Regions from separate parts of the Homo sapiens genome. Here all the other regions are linked to region 3. Evidence: promoter capture Hi-C in 16 types of primary human blood cells and fetal thymus (Javierre and others, 2016). All regions are on one chromosome and are shown on one strand. Each heading gives the region's core, a stretch centred on a gene start or on the middle of the fragment in contact. The rest is flanking DNA. Distances are from core to core; before and after follow the strand shown. Region 1 overlaps CNTLN (centlein). Region 2 overlaps CNTLN (centlein). Region 3 holds the start of CNTLN (centlein). Region 4 overlaps CNTLN (centlein). Region 5 overlaps CNTLN (centlein).

Region 1 (5,671 bases), core at 4-2,503, 210 kb after region 3:
ATTTCGTCTTTATAAATTCATTTTATATATATCTAAAAATGAAAATTGATCTCATGTGCTATATATTGGAAGTAGTTGACTGTGCCACACACGGTGGCTTATGCCTGTAATTCCAGCATTTTGGGAGGCTGAGGCAGGAGGATCATTTGATACCAGGAGTTCGAGACCAGCCTTGGCAACAGAGTGAGACCCTGTTTCTACAAAAATAAAATAAAAAATTGGCTGGGTGTGATACTGTATGCCTGTAGTCCTAGCTACTTGGGAGGCTGACATGGGAAGATTGCCTGAGCCCAGGAGTTTGAGACTGCAGTGAGCTTTGAACTCCAGCCTGGGCCACAGAGGGAAGCCCTGTTTCCAGAAAAATAAAAATAAATAAAAAAGAAGTAGTTGACTATAATTGTCTAACCTAGGTATTGACACAACAAAGCAATGTTTGGATGGCTTGTTTTATAACCTCTTTAAGAGTTGTAAGCCTAGCTTTCCCATTCCAGTTCTTCATGGTACAACCCCAGAAGGTTAAACTATGCTCCTTCTAACATAGGGTCCAATCTCATTTTCTTCCTTATGTGTAATCCTTGTGCCTTAGTAAATATTAGTTATGAATTCATGTGCTAAATAATTGTTCTTACTCTGATTAATGTTCTTATACTAATTATATTTGCACTTTAATAAAATAATCATGGTTTATGTATAGATAAAACCTTATGCTGAAAAAGAAAATAATTAAAAACATGTAAGATAGGTTTATGAATGTATACTAATTAACAACAGGGAAAGGAGTGAAACTATCTTAATGGTAAAATTTTGAAATTATGTGAGCAGCTTAAAAAATGCATTGACTGAGTTGAATTTATCAAGCAAATGTATTCTGTGACTAGAGAAATTCTTTTTTCTGCTTAAATACATATTACAGATTCATTTATGTTTACACACTATTTTCTTTCAAATTTCATATTTAGATGGGTAACCTTTTATTTGAAACATTATATTAATACTTTCTTCAAACTTATATATACTTGCTTTTTTGTGTTCTACAGAGCCAAGAAAATGATGAGCTAAGAGATGCCCATGAAAAACGCAAGGAACGGCTACAGATGTTACAGACCAACTACAGAGCAGTAAAAGAGCAATTAAAACAGTGGGAAGAAGGCAGTGGCATGTGAGTTACATAGCTCATAAAGGCATTTCCCTAAATATTAAATGGAATGGAGTAGCATTATATAGGTGTCTTAATGGCTTTTGTTTGGTTTTAAAGAAATTATTTGGTAGTCAAATCTTTATTGTGAATTTTTAAATGGAGAATATAACAAATTAAAACAGAGGAATGTGTTGGTAATAACTATAGATTTTCCTCACATTTGCAGATATCATTAGCAGTCAATGATTATGAATTATTGTACACATTTTTAATATCAATGGAATAACTTAATAAAATTATGTAATTTAAAGCAAAAATGGTTAATATCCGTGTGATTGAAAAACTTGCTTTTAAATAAATAAAATACTGGTGTTAAAATGTTTATAACTCCAAAAGTATTTAAATTTTAGTGGAAAGACTAGAGAAATATGAAATTCACATATATAGTTAACTATCTTAAAACTACTTCAACCTAGTATGCAATTTGAAGATCTTTACTATCCATCAGTTTGTTCTCCAGCTTATGTGAATGAATTGGCGGTCTCAGTTCAATTGCTCTGAACAGGTGTTCAGATCTTGGTTAGTCGTAAGTGGCTCCCCTGTTAACTGTATCAACAGAGGGCAAAGGACTGAATGAGTACAGAAAATCTACTACCTTCTCATCTTTTGAGATGGATCCTTTAGGGCAATGTTGATGATACACATTGGTCTGTTCTGTAGAGAAATACTGTTTCTAAATTGGCCAGTACGGCACTTTTACAAAATAAAAATGAAGAATTTGTTTTATGTTCAGAAAATGAAAATGTAAAGGGCATTTGGCATCACTTGTAGATAATTGTCACATCTAATTTTTTTCTTTGATGAGTGGAAGTGTTTTGTATCACTTGTCAGTAAAGCAGTGATAAAGCAGTTTGTCCTAGATTTATCCTCTGTTCACCCAGCTTAACTAATCATTAGAAGAGTGAAATCTACTTTCTGACATATTCACTGGTAATAGTTTTTTTAAAAGATAAAGGCATCTGTACCACATTCATCTTGGTTAGCAGCAAATTCCAGATGAGTTGGTTGCATATAGATTTTTTTGTATGCGGGGGGGACCGTTAAAATTCTACAGTGTCTGTTTTCATTACTACTAGACTGAATGGGAGCAATAGACCTTAGAATATCATGTGTCTGCTTAAAAGTTTGCTTTCCACAGTAGCAGTTTAGCTTCAAAAAATTATGATAGAGGGTTTTGATTTCTACATGCTTAGGTTTTAGGAAATTCATTCAATAAATGGTGAACTCGAGTTAGAAATTTGGTCAATAGATATTTTTAAATTTTAAGGAATGTATAAAATAATTTTTATTGCACTTCAGACATGTTAATTGAAAAAGCAACTTTGTTTTAAAAATAGGACTGAAATCAGGAAAATAAAGAGAGCAGATCCCCAACAACTTCGACAAGAAGATTCTGACGCTGTGTGGAATGAACTGGCATATTTCAAAAGGGAAAACCAGGAGCTAATGATTCAAAAGTGAGTTTCATTTTTAACAATATGGACTTAGATAAAATACTTGGGAGAAATTTTTTCATGGCTTAAAAGCTATTAAAGAAACACTTTATAAAATTTGAAATAATCTGATTTTTGCCAATAAAAGTAAAGAAAAAAAGACTAGCTTTTAAAAATATATATATGTATTATGCAATAACAAGTTGCACAGTTGCTAGCTCTAACAGAAACTGGATAATATGATCTAGGGATTGTGTTAATTAGTGTGGCTCTCATCTGTTGGAGGTGTCGCTCTTCATTAGCCTGTATTTTAGACGCTGCCGTGCTTCATTTTTGGAATGAGGTGGAGAGGGGATAACCTAGCCAGCCATCCTTGTTTGATCTCCTAGATACATACGCAATGCAGAATGCCTGAGCTCTCTTGGTTCCCTGCCCTGTCCTGCTAATCCCAGCTGAGCTCATTATGGTGTAGCCTTGCTGCTACTCTTGGAGCTGGAGCTGTCCAAGCTAATTACTGGTAGCAGCAGAACTGCCTGTTAAGGGTCTGGTGTGGATCTGCTAACATGGTCCTTGGTAGTGACCTGCAGAAGACACAAGGGAATTGCCTTCTTTCTTGCTGTGCCCTGCCTGTCCTTTGGGCTTACTGCTGATTTTTCCACATAGGTGTTTTAGCTGCCCTAAGTATAAAACTTGATGAAGGATACTCATATTTTAGAAAACATACAGTTGGTCGCTTGATCTTATAATTCACAGGCTATTATATTCAGCCTGGCAAAGAAAGAACATTTATTTATTTAATTTTAAGACTAAAAGGAGTTAGACCAATATAATTAACCTCTTCTGCTACTTAACTATTTCTTCATTTAGAGTTAATGCCTGACACTCAAGCATACAGTTTTTTAAAGCCTAGATGTCTTTCAGATTGCTAGAATATAGCCTCATTATGGTGTAATGTAATTAAATGTCACTGAATTTTCTTAGCTGTAAATGAGAAGCTTATTTTATATACTACATGATAACATGTATAACTTTTGTTTACAGCCTTTTCCATGTAATGATAAACTTTTGAGGAAATGACTAGACCATATGAGATTTAAATGTTGTATGCTCCCATTTACCACTTAAAGTGCAGTATACTCTATTAGTTCTAAATATTTGATGCTATAATGAAGGCTCTTATCTTGAAAACTATTTTATAGACTCATAGATTTGTCTCAGAGGCATTTCCTAATAATTTCAGTAGCTTTATTGAAATATAACTCACAAGTCATACAATTCACTTATATAACGTATATAATTCACTGGTATATTCAGAGCTGCACCGTCCATTATCACAATCTATTTTAGATTTACAGTTTTATCACCCCCCGCTACTCTCCCCACCAAAGCCCATATGACTTTGTTGTCACTCCCCAGCCCTCCCATCCATCCTGCCCAGCCCTAGGAAACTACTAATCTTCTTCCTGTGTTTACAGATTTGCCTATTCTAGACATTGCATATAAATGGCATCATTTAGTACGTGGTCCTAGACTATCTTCTTTCACTTAGCATAACGTTTTCAAGGTTCATCCATGTTGTAAATGTATCAATGCTTTTATCTGATGATCTTTAATGACCCTTCTGTCTCTAAAAAAGAAAGTAATTTTGAATAAAGTGAATTAGTTGAGAGACCTAATCTAACTATTCAAGAAAATTTAGGAAGGATTACCTATAAATGATTGATTTGGAGTTTATTTTATTTGTTAATGAAATAGAACTACAGAAAAAGTAATGAGGCCTTTTTAAAATTAGAGAACTCAGAATCCTGATCTGTTCACTTAGCAATATTTGCACTTTACAAATAGCTCCTTGAATTAAATGCCGTGTCATTCTTAAAGTGTGGAATTTTTCCCTGAAATATGTTAATATTCATTAATGTGAGAGCAATTTGTGAAATAGTTATTTTTTAGATCAGTCTTAATTTAGTAACAGGTAAGGAAAAAATTTTTAAAAGAATGCTAAAGAATGGAATAAACTTTAACGTAAGCTTTTTTGGGGGAGGGTTGCATTATTTTGTGAAACATTTATTCAGGTAACAAACCTGTTTGAGCGCTGTGTGATAGTCAGTCTGCTAGGTCAATGAAATGAGAATACCAGACAGACTTTCTACTCTCAGGGAACTTACATGGAAACATGTTTAGTATTAAACATTCTTAATGAAATGTGATGTTAAAAATAAATGTCAAAAATGTTAAAAACTAATGTCCAAAAGTGTCATGATAAAACAATAAGGCATTAAATATCAGTGCTATAGTCATTCAAGTTTGTTTTGAGGACAGAAATTTTTTAACATTGTATGTAGTATGTTGAATGTTTAATGTGCAATTTTATGAGTTATATCATATATATAAATTTGAGTAACTACCACTACAATCGGTATGCAAAATAGTTCTATCATCTCAAAAAATTTCCTCATCCTGCCCCTTTGTAGTCAAATCTTCCTACCGCCACTAATACCTGATTTGTTCTCCTTCCCTATAGCTTTGCCTTTTTCAGACTGTCATATGCACAGAATCATACAGGCTATTTACTTTCTGAGACTGGCTTCTTTCCGCATAATGTCTTTGAGATTCTTTTGGGTTGGTTAATCTAATATGTTCCTTTTTATTGCTAAATGATATTCCATTTTATGGATGGACCACCTTATCCATCTATTGAAGAACATTTGGGTTTTTTCTAGTTTTTTGCAATTATGAATACAGCTGCTATAGACAGGTTTTTGTGTGAACATAACTTTTATTTTTTAAGGGAAATGCCCAGGAGTTGCATTACATTCTGTAGACTGCCCTTTCATTCTCTTACCTGTGTCTTTTGAATGGCAAAAGTTTTTAATTTTTATGAAATCCAGTTTCAAACCATATCATTTTTAAATTTTACATTGCTAGTGTATGGATATTTTGCATGCTGACATTTTAGCTTGCATTATTGATAGAGCTAAGTCTGCCATGTTATTATTTATTTCCTGTTTGTTTCCTCTGTTTCCCATTTAATTCCTTCATA
Region 2 (6,031 bases), core at 813-3,312, 170 kb after region 3:
GGTCCTCCCCAGTCTCCATGTCCTGTAAAGTGTGAAAATGTTCCAGGCCTCACTCTTAGGATCTCTCCTTTTTTTTCTGTTTATCCTCACACCCTAGGTGATTTCATCTAATCACCTTGACTTTCAAAGTTACACTGCAGGTTCAATATCCCTTATCTGAAGTGCTTGGAACCTGAAACCTGAAGTGCTTCACATTTTTAGCTTTTGAGATTTTGGAATATTTGCATTACATTTACTGGCTGAGCATCCCAAATCTGAAAAATTGAAATCTGAAATGCTCCAATGAGCATTTCCTTTGAGCATCATACTGGTGCTCAAAAATGTTTTGGATTTTGGAGCATTTCAGATTTTTTGATTTGTATGCTCTACCTGTGTCTATAGGCTGATGATTCCCAAATTTGTAAATTTGTTTATCTACCTTGGATCTCTTCTGTATACTCTAGGAAAGAGTATATCTAATTGCCTACTTAATATCTCTTCACTTGGATTCCTAATGGGCATCTCATACTGAACGTGTTCAAAACAAAGCTATTGCCTTTTATGTTTTCAGTACAGGTGCAGAATTCGACTACTTCCCACCACCCTTGCTGTCACCATTCTGTCCAGGCCACTATCACATATTACCTGGATTATTGCAGTAACTTGCCAGTTTCTTTGTTCTGATCTTAAGCCTTTTGACATAGGTGCCAGGATATTATTGCCAAAACTTTGTGAGTCAAATCAGATCACTGCTCTCTTCAAGTCCCTCCAGTGGTTTCCCAGACCATTAAAAATAAAAAACCTAAGTTCTTACTACAACCTGTGGGACTCTACATGTTCCGACTCTACATTACCTCTCTGATCTCATCTTTGCCTTCTTTTCTTATTCACTCCAGCAACACAAACCATGTTTTTATTCCTTGAACATAACAGGTATTTAACCTTTCAAGGTAATACTTTCTTCCAGTGCCTGAAAGCTTTCCTGCCCAGTTATCTGCATAGATACCATTTTACTTCCTTTATTCTACAACTCTTACAGTTTAAAATTAGTTGATAGCAGACATTAAATGGTAGAAGCAAGAAAAGAATGATGTATGTTGTAATAGTAGTAGAGGGAAATATGGGAGCATAACTGGGGGCCTGTTCCAAGACTAAGGATAAAGAAAGCTCTCCTTGATGGTGTCATACCAGTAATACTTTGCTGAGAAGATAAGATATCAAAGAGACAAATTAATTTCTGATAACTTTTCCAAATGGACTCTAGTTCAAACCAGAAATTCCCTAGTGTATGTCTTTACTAAATTGGGAGAAGTAGAGCTTATATGCCCCTATTTGGCGAACTTGCCGTAACCTAAATTGTGATCTGGGGTACATTTTGAAACCGTAAACACTTTTCTTCTAGGATTATGTTTATCCCTTCCAAGAATCATTATAGAAAATGAGAGATGTAAATGATGGGGTTATGTTGTGTTTGTGAATGATATTGAGGCAGAATAAAAATAAAAGAGAACAAACTGAGATGTGCTAACCTAATAATTGGCTTACTTTTCCTTGTGTTTAGTCTGTTTTTTGTCATTTCTTTCTCTAGATTGAATATCATTTTTCTTTTATTTTTGTTTCTCAGAGATTACCTTGGGGAGTGTGGGAGTAGGGGGCTTCACTGATACTTAAGTTGATTCTCACTTTGAAATTGTACCTCCCACTGTAATATTTTAATTTTGTAGTTGTTTTAGATGCTTGTAGTTGTTCATACAGTTTTCATTAGTATCCTCAACTAGACTCAATTTGAAAATATTCTTCTTATTTATTTATTCTTTATAAATTTTGTCTACAGTTAGTAGACATTACAATTGTTTTGGTGGCTGTATGTAGTTATTTTAAAAAACAAAGTCTTTTATAATTCCATCTCCCAGAGGCAAATACTGTGAACATTTTGAATATTTCACTTTTAAAAATGCATCTTAACATATTTGTTAGCACACTAGTATTTTTCACTTTAACATTATATTTTAAAAAATCATAACATATAACTATTTTAGATGGTCATATAATTTATTTTTCTACTGTTGGTTATATATGTTATTTGTTTTACTATTGTAAATAAAGCTGCAATAAACATTTCTTTGTCAGTTCAGACTATTACTATTCATTATAGTGTACTGACTACACATATGTGTACACACACACACACACACACACACACACACAGACACACACACACTGACCTATCCACCCAGGGAAGACTTCCTTTTATGAAGCTATAACATCATATTAACCATATGCAATTCACTTTTTTTTTTTTTTGACAGTGTCTCACTCTGTTGCCTAGGCTGGAGTGCAGTGGCACGATCTCGACTCACTGCAACCTCTGCCTCCCAGGCTTCAAGCAATTCCCCCACCTTAGCCTCCCCAGTAGCTGGGACTACAGGCACGTGCCACCACACTCAGCTAATTTTTGTACTTTTCGATAGAGACTGAGTTTCACCATGTTGACTAGGCTGGTCTCGAACTCCTTACCTCAGGTGATCCATCCGCTTCAGCCTCCCAAAGTGCTGGGATTATAGGTGTGAGCCACTGTGCCTGGCCCAATTCACTTTTAATTAGTTCGTACATAACATACCCTTTTAAAATTATGCCATAATAAGAATGTACGGGGGTCATGGATTCTAAGGGGACCTGCCTACTACATGATCAGTAAACGTTAAGTTACTGAAACTTGAGACATTGCATGCTATGATGTCCCACTTTGGATAATGCAATTTAAAAATCATAATTGTATTTTAAAACTTTATGGCGATGTTTCTATTTTAATTTAAATATTACTCTAGTCCATTTAATGTTTGACTTTGGGTGGATGAATGGTTCTGCAGTGGTGAAAAATGTGGAGAAACAAAATACAAGTGAGAAGTCCTTCCAGTTAGATCACAGTTATAAAGACAGAATGTAAAATTGTACTATAAGCCAGGGAGAATCTGAGTTTCCATTTACACAAATTATTTTAGAAATGTTTTATGTAAATCGAGATAAAAATGTAAATTGCTCCTAGTAACCATATAATAATAATAGTTAACATTTTTTAGCTTATTGTGTATCAGGCACTGGCGATAGGGCTTTTGCCTGATTGTTTAAGCCTCGCACCAACCTGATGTGGTATTGTTATTTTTATCCCTGTTTGTAGATCAGGTAACTGAAGCTTAGAGTGTTGTCTAAAGTCAAACAGCTACCTGTGTAGAATTCAGATCTAGGTAATCTTGGGTCCAGAATGCAATTCTTAAACTTTATTATAAAGCCAACAGTATAGTTCAGTTTTAAATGGAAAGGTGAGGTCTTATCCCTAAAAGCCTCGGTAAACAGATTCTACAAACTTGCATTATCCATTCTCATCCAAATTTTTTCAACACTTAATAATTTCTAATGTTGGAATATTTATCCTGATATCTAAGTTAAATGTTATTCAGAAGATTTCATTGCTCTCTTTTTGGTGACCAGAGTATAGCAGTTACCTTTCTCTGTGAAAAGGGCTTCCATCATTTTTCTCTGGCCATTGTTTCTCCTGATTGTATCCATTTGGTTTCTTTTATCTTGCTATTACATCACACTTTTTAACTTTTTGAGCTTCTGAAGATTTTTTACTAACGCTTTTTTTTTCTCCTCAAAAATGTAGTAGTTGTGTAGTGCAGGATTTTAAAATTTGTGAATGATCACATTGCCTTATTTGTCAGGTGTGTTATTGTTCATACTTTAGTGTTCATTTATGTCAGATTATTCATTCTTATTCTAGAGCATTATATGTATTGTCTTTATTCCTTGTCTACACATATTTTTAGATTGTTTTCTAATTTGAATAATCTTGCAATAATGAGATGAAATTATTTATTCAAAATTTCAAACATTTTCACATAGATTCATTTTAATATTTTCGAATAATAATTGGGATTTAGCTCTAAGACTCAGGTGAGTTGAATTAAAAGTATTACACTAACAATTTGTCTTCAATTCTTATTAAACTTCTTTAAGAATCAGATCTTAGTTTACTGTTTCTAATGAAGTTTGTTTCCTCTGTTCTCTTTCTCTCAATTCTTCACCCCTTTTTCTTGCCCTTACATTACCCATTCTTTCTCTCATTTATTAAGTAGATCTGTATCATAATATCTGTTTAATTATCTGAAAAGATGAAAACAGTTGTCCCAGGTGGTAGGATGTGGGAATTGAGGAGGGGAGACAAAGGTGAAGAAAGAAAACTGAAAAAAGTTTTGAGCACAGAGGTGAGTCATATTGTCCCAGAGCTCTCCGTAACAAATCATCAGTCTCATATACAAGTCTACCAGTCATATAGTGTGGAAGGCTTTTCTAGGAGAAAAACACCTATCAAGATAAATAAAAGTAATCTAATGTGTTCTCTTCCTCTGAGCATGTAGCCGTTCATACAATTTTTAATATTTTTATATCTGCACCTTTATATATGTGTATGAATTAAATATTGATAAGGAATTATATCAGCATTTATGATTTCTAGACCATCCAACATGGTTGGGGTACTAACATGTATTTTATAACTTTTTGGTCTATTTAGTGACAATATTACTCAAACTATTAACTAGGAAAATAAGGAGTTAGCATATTAAATTACATGTTAAATTAGTGTTGTCATTTTTGGCTATAAATAGTACAGTTTTCACTTGAAGAATTTATTGTTTCAGTCAGTGTTGCAAATACAGTTGGCACTCTGTATCCATAGGGCATATCCCCATTCACAGATTCAACCAACCTTGAATTGAAAATATTTGGGAAAAAAATGAAAAATAGCAATACAACAATAAAAATTAATAAGAAAAAGTATAACAACTATTTACATAGTGTTTACATTGTAAACACTGGGTAGATTCCATCTCATTCTTATAAGTAATCCGGAGATGGTTTAAAGTATACAGGAGGATGTACATAGGTTATAAGCAAATACTGTGCCATTTTATACAAGGGACTTGTGCATTTGCAGATTTTTTTTATTCACTTGGGTCCTGGAAACAATATTGTGGATAATGAGGGAATGCTGTAGTATATTTACTAGATTTGGATGATTTCAATTCTTAAACAAATTAGTATCAGTGGATAACAGAGCATATACATTTTCAAAATTGTTAAGATATATAAAATATCATTTAGTTCTTTAACACTAATAAAATATTCGAAAAGGCGTTCTTCAGTCTAAGCCCCTGAAAATTAAAGGAGTTGGAGGTTGAGGTCTTATTTCTAACTTGCTTTCTGTCCCCTGGAGATCCTTTTAACCTTTTTCACTTAATTTCTTCAACAGAAAATAGCATGAAGAATAGTAAGGATAGTATATTGCTTATGAATTATAATGATTGATACTTCTAAAGCATATAATGTAATACGTGGTTACATTTTTATAGGCCAGAATCTTACAAAAAAATTCTTATCCATTCGAGCTTTTTGGATTATTAGAGGAAAGAAGTTATAGAGAAAAGAGCCTCTCTGAAAACTGTTGTAAGGAATCTTATTGCTAATAGGGAAAAAGATAACTCAGTATGCCTAAAGCAATGCAGATGAATGAATTTATCATATTGCCTAATTTACTCACTTGAGCACTGTTTTTTTTTTTTTAAACTCTACTCTTATTAATGGAATGAGAATAAGATGGAATCTACCCAGGGCACTGGAACATCCTAAGCTTTTGCCTTCTTGCAGGATCTCCTAGAGAATTAAACATTTGATTACCCTGAGGTCTTGTCACCAAAAAACACTTTAGAAATAAAGCTAGATTTAACCTTGTTGAAGGCTGTTTTAACCAAGTTTACTGCTGGACTGAGGCCTAGAGTTAAAAATGGCTGGAGGACTATCTTTGCTTCCTGTACTCTAAGTTCACAACTGAGTGATCTCATTACTATTAAATACATGAAATCCAGTCAGCCAACAAAGAAAACAGGCAAGTAGGAGATGTATATTTGGAGTAAGCTAAGGAATAAGATAAGAATTTTTCCCAAAACCTAGAGCAAAGCTGACCTAATTTGTTCTGGGCTTTCTCAGTTCTTTT
Region 3 (5,685 bases), core at 2,939-5,438:
TATAATTGTGACCTAGAGCATTCTCAGGACTGATCAGGGGATCAATAGTTGCCAGGAATTGCTCAATCAAAATTGCGGTAATTGAAAGCACAAAACAATCCTCTTTATTTACCTCTACTAACTTCTGGATTGAGATTTGTCCACACTAGGCTGTCATGATGCATCTACTACTGACTCAAGCATCACATCGGCACATTCTAGCTTATGGATTTTTCTTTTGATGCTGAAGCAAGTGATTCTTGATTTAAATCTCTAGGACATGGCAAAGACTAAAAACTGAGATAAATTCCTAAAATGATATGAAAAGAAATCTAAGATGTTTGAGGTCTTACCAATACCTAATAGTGTTTTAAAACTTAATTAAATTATGCTGACCAAATAAAGATTACACAAAACTGGTAAAGCAGAAATACATGGGTTTTAAAATTCTTCATTCTTTCTGGAAACAAAGAAACATAAAGGCTGAGAAACGGCTAATACATTTTTTCTCTTTTAAAACAGAAGTTAAAAATAAATTTTAAAAATTAAAGTAAAAGAGGCAATTTAAGTACCATATTAATTGGCACATTTCTTCCATTATTTCCCAAGATTTCGACTATACAGTGATGATATTGAGAGAATTATGTGTTTCTCTATTCTAATATACTTAATCCTCAGCAGACTTCATTATGTATTTCTTCAGAACAGACACTATCACTTTTAAATATTAGGACAAAGAGTTGAACAGGAAAAACACCTTGATTGTTTTGCACATTTTTATTCACATAGCAGTGCAGATATTTAACTTATCCTTCTGAGTCATAAGTGTTTGTATTTAACATTTCATCCGTTTCTGTCATTTCAGCAAATAACTAATACAAGAAAGAACTCCTTATGCATACTTCTAGAAATGTGCACGTTTCTTTTCTTAAAAATTGTCTGCCAGTAAAGAACTTTTATAACTCTACAACAAAAAGACAAATAACCCAATTAAAAAATAGCAAAGAACTTGAATAAATAGATATTTCTCCAAAGAAGAGAAACAAATGTCCAAAAAATACATGAAAATATGCTCATTGTCATTAGTCATGGGGAAAAATACAAATGAAAACCACAAGGAGACAGCACTTTACACCCACTAGACTGGCCATAAAAAACAAACAACAACGCATGCTCTCACTCATAGGTGGGAATTGAACAATGAGAACACTTGGACACAGGGTGGGGAACATTACACACTGGGGCCTGTCATCGGGTGGGGGGAGGAGGGAGGGATAGCATTAGGAGATATACCTAATGTAAATATGAGTTAACGGGTGCAGCACACCAACATGGCACATTTATACCTATGTAACAAACCTGCACGTTGTGCACATGTACCCTAGAACTTAAAGTATAATTTAAAAAAAGCAAATGACACAAAACTAAAACAAAAAATAAGTGTTGGTGAGGATGATGAGAAATTAGAATGCTAATACATTGCTTATGGGAAGGTAAAATGACACAACCACTGTGGAAAAGAGTTTGGTGATTCCTCAGTAAATTAAACATATGACCTAGACATTCTACTCATAGGTATATAAACAAAAAATTGAACATAAATGTTCAGACAAAAACCTGTACGTGAATGTTTATAGCAGCTCTGTTCACAATAGGCAAAAGGCAGAAAGAACCCAAAGGTCCATTAACAGATGAATGGATAAACAAAATGGAGGATATCCATACAATGGTATATTTTCAGCTATAAAAAAGAATGAAGTACTAATACATGCCATAACATAGATGAACCTTGAAAACATTATGCTAATAAAAGAAAACAGACACAAAAGGCCACATATTATATGGTTCCATTGATATGAAATATCCCAAACAGGCAAAACCGTAGAGACATAAAGGGAATTAATGGTTGCTTGGGGCTCGGGGGCAGTGAGAATGTGGAGAGACTAATGTGGGTATGTGGTTTCCGCCTCCGGTGATGAAAATATTCTGGAACCAGATAGTGGTGGTGGTTGCCTAACATGGTGAATGTAGTTAATGCTGCTGAATTGTTTTTTATTTGTAGCCATTTTATTTATTTATTTATTTTTTGAGACAGTCTTGCTTTATCACCCAGGCTGGAGTGCAGTGGTATGATCTTGGCTGTTTGCAACCTCTGCCTCCCGTGTTCCAATGATTCTCCTGCCGTGGCCTCTCTAGTAGCTGGGATTACGGGAATGCACCACCACTCCCAGCTAATTTTTGTATTTTTAGCAGAGACGGGGTTTCACTATGTTGTCCAGGCTGGTCTCGAACTCCTGGTCTCAAGTGATCCACCAGCCTCGGCCTCCCAAAGTGCTGGGATTGCAGTCGTGAGCTACCACGCCTGGCCTATTTGTAGCCATTTAAAATGCCTACGATGGTAAATTTTATGTTGTGTATTTTGTGTATTTTGCTCCAATAAAGACAAAATTTAAAAAAATGCCTAGTCAAAGAGTCAGGATATTATCCTTTTGGGAGGTCACATATACATATTTATACCACTGCTTTTCAAAAGGATCTTTTTATGATCAGGTGAAATGATGTCCTTTTGAGTGAATGACATACAGCAATTAAAAATGTGCATTAATACTGATTTGGGGCCAAACACGTAACTTATGTGGTTAGACTTCCCAGTCTTAAGTCTAGTGAAATCTCACAGACTATCAAGACCAAATGTTGTATTTCAAGTCACAGGTGTGGAGACAGGGTAGCGATCAAAGTACAGGTTTTCAGAGTTAAGTGGAATTCAGTGAATTCAAAGCCTAGCTTTTCTGATACCAGACATGGCACTTCAGAGAAGTTACAGTAACCTTGCAAGTCTGTTTCCTCACTAGTAAAAATGGAGATATATAATAATCTAATTGAAGGTGACATATGTATTAAGTGAGTTCATATATGAAAAGTGCTTAGCACTGGACTCAGCATATGGTAAATGTTCAGTAGGTTAGCTAGTTCTAAGACAGGCTTATAAACATACTTTTTCTAATGTACTCTTTAATAAGTTTTTGTGAGGAATTCACCTTCAGTTTGAAAGAAGTCCACTTATCTTGGTTGCCTTGGCAGGATTCTAATTGGGAGGGTGTCTTTTGGCATCCTGACTAGATTCTCATGCAGAGATGGTGATATTTTGGTTAAATGAAGTTAACAGTAAAGTGGTCATCTCTCTACTTCTGCTCTCAACCCCCATCTCAGCTTTCCCCAAGTATTCTGGAACCCTTTCTGAAGAAGAGGGCAGTTCTAACTTTCAGGGATGTTCTGGTGCCAGCTCAATATGCATCTCATTAATCTTATCAATAGTAACAAAGTATTTGAAGGGCAAAGAAAGATACGATTACTACCTATTTGAAGTTTATAAAGAAAGCCAGAAGAAAAAGAAAAAAAAGAGAACAAAAGATAAAGTAGGTCTTGTTTCTTCATCCACGCTCCAAATTACTGATTTCAAACTGCTCCAAGGACCCAAACTGTTCAGCAATGTGGGCTACACTTCCTCTGATATCCAGCCAACGCATAAAGAAGCTGACATAAAAACTCAAAGGAAATCATGACTCCTGCAAAACAAAAGACAAAGGGTGTACAAAGGATCATCATTCAAGTTGGAAACCTGCTTGATAGTCCCAGATCAGCACAAGGCTTTCCACATCTCCTTGACATTAGTCAGCTGGATGTCAGCTGTACTAAAGCAGTTTTGCCAAGGGGTGTGAAGAAAACACTTAAGTGTAAAACGTATTCCTTGATCCTCAAGGAGCTTACAACAGGGCTGGGGAGATTAGCCGTGTAACTGACACTCCAGGGCGGTCAATGAAACGTGTCACACGAGTTGGCAGGGGCCTTGAAGGAGAGGGATTTCACAGTTAAGGATCATTTGGGGCTGGGGGCTTGTCAAGGAAGGCTTTAAGAGGTGGGATGTAAGTGGCAGGCAGGGCTTTAGGTGGGCGGGAAATCCAGGCGATCCTGGCCAAGGACTCAGGCACAGGACGCTGGGATGGCCTGCCCGGCGGACCGGCCTTACCCTTTCGGGCCACGGCGCGTGCGTACCCCAAGGCTCGCGCTGGGCGCATTGCCCGCGGGAAGCCGGCCAGGACCAGAGAACACGGGACACCGCGGGCCAAGGCGGGAAAAGCCTCGCGCATGCGCGGTTCGGCGTTCCGGGCTCGCCGGGTTGGGGAAAGGGAGGTGGAGTTTCCAACAGGGAACTTGACCCGTTAGCAGCCGCAGCCATGGCGGCGCGTTCGCCTCCCTCACCGCACCCTTCGCCCCCAGCGCGACAGCTGGGCCCCAGGTCCCCACGTGTTGGGCGGGGAGCTGAAGTACACGCAATGCGCAGCGAGGCCTCGGGTTTTGCCGGCGCAGCGCGGGAGGTGGTCGCGGACGAAAGTGATAAAATCTGGGTGGGTGAAGAAGGGTCAGGGGGCCGGCGAGGGCCTGGGGGGGCAGCTCCGGCTCATGCTCCCCTCCTCAGCGCGCCCATGGGGTCCAGACGGCTAGAGGGCATCTCGGTAGAGGAGGCGATGGTGACCCGGACGCAGCTGCTGGAGGAAGAGCTGAGCAGCCTAAAGGAGGAGTTGGCCCTGTGTCAGGTATCGAGGAGTCTCGCAGTCCCCCTTTCCCCACCACAGCGGGGCCGGGACCCGTGGGGAGGCGCGCCTTTCTCCCTCTGCCTTGGGACCTACCCCGCCCAGCGACGCTCCCTGGCAGATGCACACCCTGCTTCGCTCGCGGCCGGGGGCTGGAGGGACGCGGCTGCGCCCGGCTCCCCAAACCCGGGCCCCTGCCCCTTTCCGAACTGCGGCCAGACAGGCTTCGCCTCCGCGCCCGGGTTTGGTTTTGGTCACTTGGATACTCGCAGTCGCATCCTCTCCGCTTCCCCCCCAAGCCCAAGTTCTTGGTGGTGACGGTAGCTGATACCTGCCGGGGGCCCAGGAGTGACATGCAGTCCACTAGTTGAAATGAACAGGAAAGTGTAAACACTTCGGTTAGAGTAAAATCCATCGATGAAGGAGCCTGTTTTTAAAATTTCAAACCCACACTTGGCTTTGTTTTTACCCAGTCAAACTTAAGTTGTAAACACAGACGAGTAACGTTTAGAAAGTCTCAGAGCCGGGAACTTAACAATAGATGATGCTTGGTACTTGTTTATTAACCAGCTATGGTAATTCCGCGGTCCTTGAGTGAGAAATCACATTTTCATGTGATCTTGCCAGTGAAAAACATTTGCTAAATCAATTGCATTAAAATTACTTTCCTGTTTGTAGAGTTTTTGTAAGGATGGACTTGACTATACTCATGTTCAAAGAGATTGAATTTTCCTTTAGTTTTGCATCCTTACCATCATCTCTTTTGATTTTACCAGAACCTTTAGATAGGGTTGGGAGATTGGATGTGGGAAACTCACTGAACAGTAGATCTTTAAGTCACTCTGTCTTCAACTTAGAAACCAATTAGGAGCTGCTGAACATCAAAGTAACTTTGTGAACAGTATCATCAGTTTAATAAAACAGTTCATGAAATTCATTCTCTGTCGCCCAGGCTGGAGTGCAGTGGTGCAGTCTCAGCTCACTGCAAGCTCCGCCTCCCGGGTTCACGCCATTCTCCAGCCTCAGCCTCCCGAATAGCTGGGACTACAGGTGTCCGCCACCACGCCTGGCTAATTTTTTGTATTTTTAGTAGAGATGGGGTTTCACCGTGTTA
Region 4 (5,925 bases), core at 3,189-5,688, 230 kb after region 3:
CTCATAGAGCTTCAACTTATTGGAGAATGCAAATAGTAATCAATAAGCATACAGATATGTAATTTAAAATTGTGATTAATATGAAGATAAAGCTCTTCTATGCGTTTCCATTTTTATGTTTTTCCCCTTATTCTTTCCACTTTTTCCCCTTTCTGTTTCCTGCCCTCCCCATATACCTAAAATATAGAAATGATTTACACATTTGTTTGCTGTACAATTAGCCTACACTGTAGGTGAGAATGTATTATGAGTGTGTGTGTGTATATATACATATTTGTTTCTCATTTCCTACTTCTCACAGCCCCTGTCTCTTTCTGCTTTCTGTCTCTATGGATTTGCCTATTCTAGGTGCTTCATGTAAGTGGAATCATTTAATATTTGTCTTTTTTGTATGTGGATTATTTCATTTACTATTTCTTCAAGATTTATCCTTGTTGAACCATGTGCCAGAAGTTCCTTACTTTTTAAGGCTGAATAATGTTTCATTTTATGTATATACCACATTTTGTTTATTCAGCCATTGATGGATGTTTGGGTTTTTTCCATGTTCCAGCTTTTATATTTTTTAGTTGTATTCTAATTTGTATTTTGCTATAAAGTCAACAGGATTCTTTGTATCCTCCACAGGCAGATATATCACTTGAGTAAATGGCAAGTATATTTTGGAATTTTATTTTGTAACTCTGGAGATTAACTTTCAATGTTTATCCCTTAGGTTGTATTCAGACATGAGTCCATATACATATGATATTTATTTTTTGAGGCCATACATATATTATTCTAAATTTATTTACTACTATAGTTTGTTTCCACATATTTTGGGTACCATGTATATATATAAATACTACATATATATATATATAAATACTACATATATATATAAATACTACATATATATATAGTATTTTTAAATTTTCTTAAAGAATTACATAAGAAAATCTTGAGTGTTATAATCATTTGATTTTTCTGTGAAAAGACAGCAAAGTTACTTTCCATAAGTCAATTTTGTCACACGAACTCATTCTATTTGATAGTATTTTTTTCTTTAGAATAAATAACCTTAACAATGTTGGGTTTGAACATCTGAATTGAATGCTAATGACTAAATAATAAAATTTATTTTGAATGACAGGAAACTGATACAAAGGGTTTGTTTAGTCTGGAAAGTATTTCAGGCTTTAGAACAGTTTGTTTTCAGTGTAGATTAGTTGCTTCTTAAGAAACTTTGTTCTGAAGAAAAGAATGATATATAATCAAATGTAGGAATGTTACAGGTAAAGTTATCTTCAGATATAAAAAAGTTTTAAATTTGGTAATATATTTTCCAATATTTGTAGTTTTATCTAGGGAATATAAAAACCCTTGAGAGAAAAATTTTACTCTTAAAGAGATTCTTATGATGTTTTTAAAGGTAGTGAAACAGGATGCATGAATAAGGGTGTTCGCTGCAGCAGTTTGGTAATAGTGAACAATTAGAAGCAATCTAAATGTCTCTTAGTGATAGATACAAATACATTGTGATACATTAATATAATTTGATACTCTACTGCATTTAACATGCATAAACTAGATCTAAACTTATCAAAATAGAAATGCTTAAAAAGCAAAAGTTGATTGAAAAGAAGAAAGTTGAATAACAGTATATATACTATGATATAATTTCTAAGTGTAAAATGTTTAGAAATCACAAAATGATACTATATATTTTTGTAGATGTATATGTAGACATACACATTTGTAAAAATATAGTTACACATAACTGCACACATGTAGACGTACACGTGTGTATGTACTACATATACACTATACACATACATATATCAAAAATCAAAGTGATGAATTAAATATGGCATAATGTGAATATTTTAAAATCTAGTTGTTACATTAATGTTGATTATATTATTTTCCATACTTTTTTAATGTTTGAAATATGCTTTCTACTTTTTAAAGTATGTACTAAAAAAGTAATAATTCTACTTCTAGTTAGAAACACTAAAAGGAATCTTGTATATGAGCACATATACAAGAATGCTCACTACAGCATTGTTTGTAATTATGGAAATTTGGAGACAACCAAAATAGCAGATGATGTAGCTACATAGCTAAAATTCCAAAAAAACCTATTTAATAGAATATTTTAGCCAACTCCAAACCCAAAAGTCAGTTTTAGATTGATTATAGTCTAAATGTGAAGGGTTAAGCAGTAAAGCTTTTAGAGGAAAACATAGGAGAACATCTTTGTGACTTTGTAGTAGGCCAATATTTATTCCTCTCCTCTCCCCTCCCCTCCCCTCCCCTCTCTTTTTGAAATAAGGTCTTACTTTGTCACTCCGCTGGAGTGCAGTGGCACAATCTCAGCTTGCTGCAGCCTCAACTTCCTGGGTTCAAGTGATTCTCCCACCTCAGCCCCCCAAGTAGTTGGTACTACAGGCGCATGCCACCATGCCTGGCTAATTTTTTGTACTTTTGTAGAGATAGGGTTATGCCATGTTGCCCAGGCTGGTCTCAAACTCCTGAGCTCAAGCAATCCACTTGCTTTGGCCTCCTAAAGTGCTAGGATTACAGGTGTGAGCTACTGCACCTGCCCAATTTCTTAAACCAGGCATAAAAAGCACTAAATAGAAATGAAAAATTGATAAATTGGCCTATGTTAAAACCAAGAACTTAATGTTCATTAAAAAATACCATTAAACGAATTAAAAGGCTACTTTCTGAGTATGAAAAGATATTTTCAGTATATATGTCCAGGAAAGTAGTAGTACTCAGAATATATGAAGAATTCCTGTGACTAAATAAGAAAAGGACAGTCAACCCAATAGAAAAATGAGCAAAACACTTGAACAGATATTTCACATAAGAGGACATCCAGGCCGAGTGCGGTGGCTCACGCCTGTAATCCCAGCACTTTGGGAGGCCGAGTCGGGTGGATCACGAGGTCCGGAGATCAAAACCATCCTGGCTAACACGGTGAAACTCCGTCTATACTAAAAATACAAAAAAAAAAAAAAAAAAAAAAAAACTAGCTGGGTGTAGTGGCGGGCGCCTGTAGTCCCAGCTACTCAGGAGGCTGAGGCAGGAGAATGGCGTGAACCTGGGAGGCGGAGCTTGCAGTGAGCCGAGATCTTGCCACTGCACTCCAGCCTGGGCAACAGAGTGAGGCTGTCTCAAAAAAAAAAATAATAATAAAAATAAACAAATGAGAGGACATACGGACATACTAATGGCCAATAAGCACATGAAAAAGTGTTCATCTTGATGTGTCTTATTTTTCTAGATTTTTAAATTGGAAGCTTGCATCATTATGGATATTTCTTTTTTTCCAATTTAAGTATTGTATGTTGCAATATAGATATCCATCTAAGGATTGCTTTTGCTGTGCCTTACAAATTTTGAAGTGTATTTTAAATTTTTCTAAGTTCAAAATAATTCCTAGTTCCTCTTGGATTCTTCTTTGAAAGTAGAACTGTTTAGAAGCATTATAGAAAAATGTTATTCAATGAAACTTGTTAAAGTTTGGTAAAGAAGACTATTTAGGACCATCATCATAGGTAGGGACCACTGCAGTCGGATTTTGCAGTTGGGGAGAAAATTGGACTCAACTCCTAATACAGCATGGGTAAGTGGGAATTTATAGCTAAGGTAGAGGTCAGTGGATTGGAAAATTAGTAAGAGGAAACATCAGTGGGAAGGGAGATTCTGGCTAAACTGACCTTATCAGGATTTTGATTGAAGACAGGCTAGGGTGATCAGATACAGCCTAGGGGGTGGTGGAGGATGAGGAACCCAGTTAGATATTGGCCTTGATTTATATATTGTGGTGGAAGAGATTCTTGCTAAACTGACTTAGTGGAGTTCCTTGCTAAGACTGGATTTTACAAGGAAGTGCACAGATGGGCTTAGGAGAAGGTTCAGGAGAGTTGACTAAAGATTGGTTAAGCAGAACCTCTTTGTCAGAAATAGGTTCTTTAGTTTCAACTATTTTGGGATTTTGCAGACGTCCTTCTGGTATTTATTTTTAATTTTATTATTCTATTGTGGTCATAGAAGATGCTTTGCATGATTTTAAAATGCTTTTAGCTTTACTGAGAATTGTTTTATAGCCCAGCATGTGGTCTTATCTTGTTGAATGTTCCATGGCACTTGAAAAGAATATTTGTTTTGCTGTTGTTGGGTATGGAGTGTTTTATAAAACATTCAGTTAGGTCAAGTTTTTTGATAGTGTTTTTCAAATGTTCTGTATCCTTACTTATTTCTGTCCACTTTTTCCATCAATTACTGGGAGAGGTGTGTTAAAATCTCAGTTTAAATATCTTCAGTTTTTTTTCCATTTTTTTAAATTATTATTATACTTTAAGTTTTAGGGTACATGTGCACAACGTGCAGGTTTGTTACATATGTATACATGTGCCATGTTGGTGTGCTGCACCCATTAACTCCTCATTTAGCATTAGATATATCTCCTAATGCTATCCCTCCCCCGTCTCCCCACCCCACAACAGTCCCCAGTGTGTGATGTTCCCCTTCCTGTGTCCATGTGTTCTCATTGTTCATTTAAAACACTTTTTTAGCACAGGTTTTAGAGTATCATTTACTAGAGGCTTGTTTATCTCTACTCATTAGAATGACCCATCTGTGTTCTCTATTGAATGCCTCTGATGTTCAACTAAGATTCTCTCTTCTCTGACTGGTCGCAACTCAAATGTATCCCAATCCTGTGTGAGAAATATTCTGGGAATATTCTGTTTATAGCTCCTGTTGTTCTTTGCCTGGCCTTGTTGTGTTTCATACTATGCACATGCAAAAAAAGAAATAAAGATTAGCCACATACTCAAAGGAATTCTTATGCAGATTTCTTTAGCTTTTTTCCACTGTAGATTCCTCCTCACTTGGTCATATGCCTCACAAATTCTGGCTGTTTTAGACTTCCTAAACTGCAGTCTCTTGTTTCAACTCAATGAGACTGTCATGTTCTTCTTGGGACCCCTCTCCCTGTCTGGAAAGTGCTTTCAGGCAGAAATCGAGCCATCATTAAGGGCTCTCTCTGTTTATTTGCTTTCTCTCAGGGATTACAGTTCTGTGCTGCCTATTGTCCAGTGGCCGAATACAGTTGTTTCCTATCATTTGTCCAGTAAGAAATAGATTTTAAATTGTGGTCCTCATACCAGAGTATAAGAAACACCAGTGTAAGTGGATAGTAAATCAGAGTCAGTAGCTAGTCAGTGCTCATCCTGGTCAGGAGTACCAGGGCTCTGCCTCTGTCAGCTCCTCCCTCAAACACACAGTAAGATATGGTTTGTTGGTGCTTAGTTTGACTCAAGAACAAGGTGGTCCCTGATGTCTGTAAATATTTATTAAAAGTAGGGACTGTGTGTGTTCTTTCCAAAAGAAACAAGCTGTAAGTATAAAGTATGTTTTAAGAAGCAAGAAATAACTTTTCCAACAACTGCAGCCCTACCTTCTGTTGGGTTAGTGATCTGAGAGCCAAGGAAAACTAAGTTGAGGTAAGTTACACCTGCTTTTTCTTTGTGGGGCCATCTTGCTTCAGTATGTTCCACGTTCTTAAATAAACAAATCAGGAACCTAATCCAAGCTTAATCATTGTGTGGTTGAGTGTATGTGTGTGCATGTGTATGTGTTCCTCCTATCAATCTGTAATGGACCTGGGAAGCTGCCAGTATATATCATGGGATCCCAGTTTTTAAAATCCTTATGTGTGTGAATTGATGTTTATAATATATGAACAAAAAATGAGAGTATACATATCAAAGTGTAAACATTATTTTTTTTCCAGGAAGTATACTGAGTGAGGGGAAGGAGAGGCTACCTAATTTTTACTTCAAATAACTTTTTATTGTTTGAATAATTATAACAATAATTACAACAACTTGTGTTGTTGAGTACATAAAAGTCTAGAACTAATGTATT
Region 5 (5,469 bases), core at 1,550-4,049, 250 kb after region 3:
ACTGAAAATTAGCCCCTGCCTACCTCATTAGCCTTATCTTTCATATGTTTAGCATTATTTTTTCCTCCCTGGAACTGAAAAATCAGCAAAATAAAACCCCAAAAGTGCTTTAGCGTTTAACCTCTGGACCAGTGTACACAGTACTATATTCCTTTCTTGCAGGTTCCATGTAGAAAAGACCTCCTCATCTTTAACAATAGAACTGAGGTGTGACCTCCTATCTAAAGCCTTTTTCTGTTCTCTTTGTTTGTACCCTCAACATATATAAATATATAAAATATTATATAAAACATATGCATTGTACGTATATGTATATACACACACAAATATATCTATATAAATGATTTATACACAGATTTTGGTTGCTTCTGTTATGCTTAAAGTCATGCTTCTTTGTAGTTGTTACCAACATGGCGCTGTGGCTCACACTGTAATCCCAAGATTTTGAGAGGCTGAGGCAGGTGAATCGTTTGAATCCAGGAATTTGAGACCAGCCTGGGCAACCCTGTCTCTACCAAAAAAAAAAAGTTGGGTGTGGTGGCACACACTTGTACTACCAGCTACTTGGGTCGCTGAGGCTGGAGGATCACTTGAGCTCTGGAGGCGGAGGTTACAGTGAGCTGAGATCACGCCACTGCATTCCAGCCTGGGTGATACAGCAGGACCCTGTCTTAAAAAAAAATGGGAATTTTAAAATTAAAAAAATTATTTTTAAAACAAGCCAAAGGAGTATTAGGAATATAGAGAAATATTAAAGTAAATTGAAACAAAAGTTAATTGCAAGAAGTAATTCGTAACATGAATTTTTTTTTTTTGAGATGGAGCCTTGTTCTGTCACCCAGGCTGGAGTGCAGTGGCGTGATCTCGGCCCACTGCAAGCTCTGCCTCCTGGGTTCACGCCATTCTCCTGTCTCAGCCTCCCGAGTAGCTGGGACTACAGGCGCCTGCCACCATGCCCGACTAATTTTTTTGTATTTTTAGTAGAGATGGGGTTTCACCGTGTTAGCCAGGATGGTCTCGATCTCCTGACCTCGTGATCTGCCTGTCTCGGCCTCCCAAAGTACTGAGATTACAGGCGTGAGCCACCTTGCCCGGCCCGTAACATGAAATTTATATGAAATCAGAAACACAGTTACAATGTTAAACTTCACAAAGCTAATTCATTTAAATATAAAGATCGAAATTAAAATATAATGAAGCACTTGGAAGTAGAAAATAAACAGTCTAAAATATTTTAAAAGTGTGGGCTTAAGGAATAGCATAAAATAAAAAGAGGGTGTTACACATGGCTTTCAAGCTAGCTAGAGGAATTAAAGATAGCATGTTCAAATTCCCCTGATTCATCCAGCGAGCTAATAGGATCGAGTTCATCAAGTCCCCAGCTTAAAGACATTTTATTTTTAAGGCAAGGAAGCCTATTTATTGGGTGTAATTTACAATAAATAAAATGAAAAAAAAAAAACTACTTATCCTTCTGTTTTCCTACCTCTCGTCCTAGAAAAAGATACTTACATCGTCCTGGTAACTTCCTTTTTAGAATATTTGTGGCTGGTAACAAAAATGGGCTAATTGTCTTTGAATTTTCACTGATTGAATAGATTCTTCCCAGGCCTCCTGCCCAGGTAAACTCAAAGGGGATGGTCTGGGTCTCCAGAAAGAGGTGCCAAGTGTAACAGTCATATCAAGTGATTGAAATTCTCTCCTACTCATCAGAAACAGGATTTATTTCTTGCCATTTCATTCATCAGAAATGGGACTTCAGTTTTCATTGGCTTATGGTTACTTCTCGGAGGAGATGGGTTCTAATTATAGTTGGCTGATCTGACTTTATTTTGCCTAAGACAACAATTTTAAATTAACACAAAAACCAAAAACTTTTTCATGGCAGTTCTTGCTGATTATTGCCTATTTATCCCCAATTCACTTATCTGAAACAGTGTTCAGAGTTATTTTTACTCACAATACTTCTGACACCAATTTTATAGGTTTTTTTCTTCCACCCAACAACTAACTCATTGCTTCTCTAAACTCCAATTGGGCAATTCAGTTCAATTCTAGCTACTTAGAATTAGTGCAGACCCTACAGATTAAGGACTGTGTCCCACAGGACTGCCTCCATTTTAGATCCCAGTCACAAGTCCCAGGTTTCCACCTGTATTTCTGACCAACTGAGTTTAAATTGGGGGTTCCCAGGAGCCCTTCCTCAGATTAGTTAATTTGCTAGAATGGCTCAAAAAAGTTTTCCATTTACTATTGCTTGTTTATTATAAAGGATACAACTCAGGAACAGCCAAATAGAAGAGTTGCATAGTTCATGGTATGGAGGAAGGAAAAGGAAGCTTTTGTGTCCTTTCTGAGCATGCCACCTTCAGCACCTCAATGTGTTCACCAACTTGGAATTTCTCCAAACTCCACAGAGTTTGTTATGGAGCTTCCATTAAGTAGCCATCATTGATTCAATCATTGGCCATTGGTGACTGAATTCAGTCTCCATTTCCTCTCCCCTCTGCAGAGGCCTGGTGGTGGGGCTGGACGTTAAAACCATCTAATCACATGGTTGCCTCCTCTTGCAGCCAGTCCTCATCTTGAACCTATCTAGGGGCTCACCAGGAATCATCTTATTAAGCATAAACTCTGGTATGGTTGAAAGGAGCTTGTTATGCTTTGCTTGTAATAACAAAAGATGGTCCTATTACTCAAGAAATTCCAAAGGTTTTAGAAACTATGTTTCAGGAACTGGGGACAAAATCCAAATACAGTGGACCCTCTGTATCCACGGGTTCCACATCCCTGGATTCAACCAACTGCAGATCAAAAATATTTGAAAAAAAATTGTATCTGTATTGAACATGTATAGACTTTTTATCTTGTTATTCCCTAAACAATGTAGTATAACAATATTTACATAGCATTTACATTGTATTAGTTATTATAAGTAATATAGAGATTATTTAAACTATACAGGAGGATGTGCATAGGTTATTTGCAAATGCTACATCAGGGACTTGAGCATGGTTGGATTTAGGTATCCCAGGAAGGTCCCTGGAACAGGAACGACTGTATGTGTTTCTTATTGTATCACAAGTACCTTCTGAAGTAAAACCTACCCACTATGATTCTCATTTTCTTTTCCTAAAAGTGAAATAAAAATAGCAATATTCTTTAGGAAATTGCCCATACAATAAGTTGATAACTGTTTTCCTTTCTTAATCCCTCAAATTGATATAATCACAAACTGACCTTTAAGAAACTTTTTGTATGAAGCTTCATATTAAGATCAGGGAAAAAACAATGATAATAGATTTTTCAAATCATTTGTTAAATTAATTAAAAAAAAGAATCTAAAAGAATACAAAGTAAAAGATTGCAGAAAACTTTATATTAATTATTTAAGCCAAGAGGATTAAAAGAAAAAATATAGAAAATAGAATATACTAAGCTCTTAAATAACTATGAATAAGCAAAATTAAAGGTTAATGAGAAAAAGAAAAAATGGAGAGAAGAAACTCCTGAGAAAGAATATAAATTAGAATGAATGTTTATACTAGTAAAAGTAAAGCATTTAAAACTAAAATATCAAAAATAAATCTCCAGTAAAGTGAAGCATATGCTCACATCTACCATAGGAAAGAAATAGGAGTGTGTATTTCTAACTAGGTCTTGTTGGTTTATTTCCCAAATCCTGGGATCCTTGAAGAGAAAGAGAATCAAGGGCCAGAAAATTGGATCCTTGTTTCTTTCCATGGCATGAGCTTATCTTCTTGAGCGTTCTGTATAAACCGGTGAAGGGGAGAAACAAACGTCAGCAGATAAGTACAGGTGAACATGGTTAGCCAATCTACCAGTGGACCTCACACACATCCAGGAGCAAACAAGCAGCACACAAATTCATTTTTAAATCAGTCTTCACCATTTACTTTATTGGAAGTATTTAGCTATTGTTGGCATCCCATGCTCTTTGAATATAGAACTATTATTTTTAAGATGAAATATTTCACTCAGAAGTATAACAGATATTTAAATGACTAGAAAGGATGAATTGTATTTGCATATTATTTCTATACTGCTGAAAGATTGCTGTAAATGAATTCAGCACCATGGTGTTAGGGGACTAGAAGAAGAAACTTGGGAACTGATAGATTATTATCAAGGTAAAGGTACTTATTCCCCAGGTGGCAAATTCTACCTATCCTAGCTTTTATTATCCTTCGGATACTGTTCTAATTATTTCATAAGTACAGAAGTTTTAATTGGGTATGTCATTTTTCAAAGACAAAAGAAATGCCTAATTCACTCTAACAAACTTGTTAGTCACTGTTTATACCAGGAGGATTTCTACTCTACAGAGAATAATATTGTTTTCTTTTTCCTTTGTTGAGAAATCAAAGTTTTACACTGACCTACAGCAGCCAAGCATACTTTAAAGCAAAATAATCTCAGGCTAACACAGATATATATCCTTTTAGTTTTATATATTCTTTTTTGTCCCCTTTTTATTCCTTAAGAAATGTTATATTCCAGAATTAATTCACTAAGAAAATGTTAGTAAAATTTGTCATAGTAATTTATCTGATAAGAAAAAAGTTATTTATAGGATTTGATATATTTTGATTTTAGTATTAACTGAAGTTTTATGACTTTGTTTTTTCTTTAAGGTTGTTAAGTTACTTGTAGGTTTTGGCTTGGTTGAAAAGGTTTTGGCAGTCAAATGTATAGCTAGTGTAGGAATGATTTGTAGCTATAACCTCACCCATATACCTAGCTTTCTATTTGTTATGAAGTCACAGTATTTCTAGAAGAGTGATTTGTATGGTTTACCTCACCCAGTGCATGATCCTTCACTTGAAAAAAAGGTTGTGGTAGGGGTTGTTACAATTTCAATCCACCCTAATTCTGTTACTGTTTGCTTTGTTCAGCAATCACTGTGATCCTCCTGGCAGGGAACAAGATCCAGAGAACAAAACTAGTAGTGACTGTGTAGATAAAAAGGTAATGAATTCTGCTTTTAAGGCAAAGGGGGAATAGTCTACAAAAGAATGAAAATAGGAATAAAAGTGTAGCATTGTTAACCTGAAGATCTATTGTACTTTTGAAAAATCTTATACTGAAAAAAAAAAAAAAAGGTGGCACTACAAAGATACATAATTATGTTGCTAAAAATCTTGAAAAGGGTCATTGTTTAGTTACTGGCCAAATACTTGACAAGAAAATAGCCTAGATTATTCACAGTTGAAAAACCATAGAACCCTTTTTCTTAAAATGACAGGACAGTATTTCAGCAGTACACGTGGTATCATAATATATTATTTATTCTCTACCAGAACAGCTCTTTAGATCTGGTGAAGATGATGAGGTCAAGAGGAGTACTCCAGAGAAGAATGGAAAAGAAATGTTGGAGCAGACATTACAGAAGGTAGTCTAATCTTTAAGATATTGAGCTGAGCAAGTTAAATCTGAATTTTAACATAA

The links. The method cuts DNA at HindIII sites, captures the fragments that hold promoters and counts their contacts. A CHiCAGO score of 5 or more calls a contact.
Region 1: a fragment that was not itself captured here is called in contact with the fragment with the promoter of CNTLN in region 3 in 1 of 17 cell types (erythroblasts); the score reaches 6.4 in erythroblasts.
Region 2: a fragment that was not itself captured here is called in contact with the fragment with the promoter of CNTLN in region 3 in 1 of 17 cell types (erythroblasts); the score reaches 5.2 in erythroblasts.
Region 4: a contact is called between a fragment that was not itself captured here and the fragment with the promoter of CNTLN in region 3, in 4 of 17 cell types (erythroblasts, monocytes, megakaryocytes and 1 more). The highest score is 8.2, in erythroblasts.
Region 5: a fragment that was not itself captured here is called in contact with the fragment with the promoter of CNTLN in region 3 in 3 of 17 cell types (erythroblasts, M2 macrophages and megakaryocytes); the score reaches 8.6 in erythroblasts.

The regions. Positions count from the first base shown.
Region 1 is chr9:17,339,790-17,345,460 of GRCh38, forward strand. It overlaps CNTLN (centlein), which reads left to right. Exons shown (of 26, transcript NM_017738.4): 11 at 1,038-1,159; 12 at 2,536-2,655. Among named protein-coding and RNA genes, the nearest start is that of CNTLN, 210 kb to the left of the region's middle. The HindIII fragment of the contact is 4,742 bases long and covers 1-3,624 here.
Region 2 is chr9:17,299,934-17,305,964 of GRCh38, forward strand. The region is part of intron 7 of CNTLN (centlein); the gene reads left to right. Among named protein-coding and RNA genes, the nearest start is that of CNTLN, 170 kb to the left of the region's middle. The HindIII fragment of the contact is 2,216 bases long and covers 955-3,170 here.
Region 3 is chr9:17,130,852-17,136,536 of GRCh38, forward strand. It overlaps CNTLN (centlein), which reads left to right and starts at 4,189. Exons shown (of 26, transcript NM_017738.4): 1 at 4,189-4,574. The coding sequence starts at 4,215. RefSeq lists an enhancer at 4,470-5,033. The HindIII fragment of the contact is 13,995 bases long and covers 1-5,685 here.
Region 4 is chr9:17,356,732-17,362,656 of GRCh38, forward strand. The region is part of intron 12 of CNTLN (centlein); the gene reads left to right. Among named protein-coding and RNA genes, the nearest start is that of SH3GL2, 220 kb to the right of the region's middle. The HindIII fragment of the contact is 2,300 bases long and covers 3,289-5,588 here.
Region 5 is chr9:17,382,841-17,388,309 of GRCh38, forward strand. It overlaps CNTLN (centlein), which reads left to right. Exons shown (of 26, transcript NM_017738.4): 14 at 5,322-5,413. Among named protein-coding and RNA genes, the nearest start is that of SH3GL2, 190 kb to the right of the region's middle. The HindIII fragment of the contact is 925 bases long and covers 2,338-3,262 here.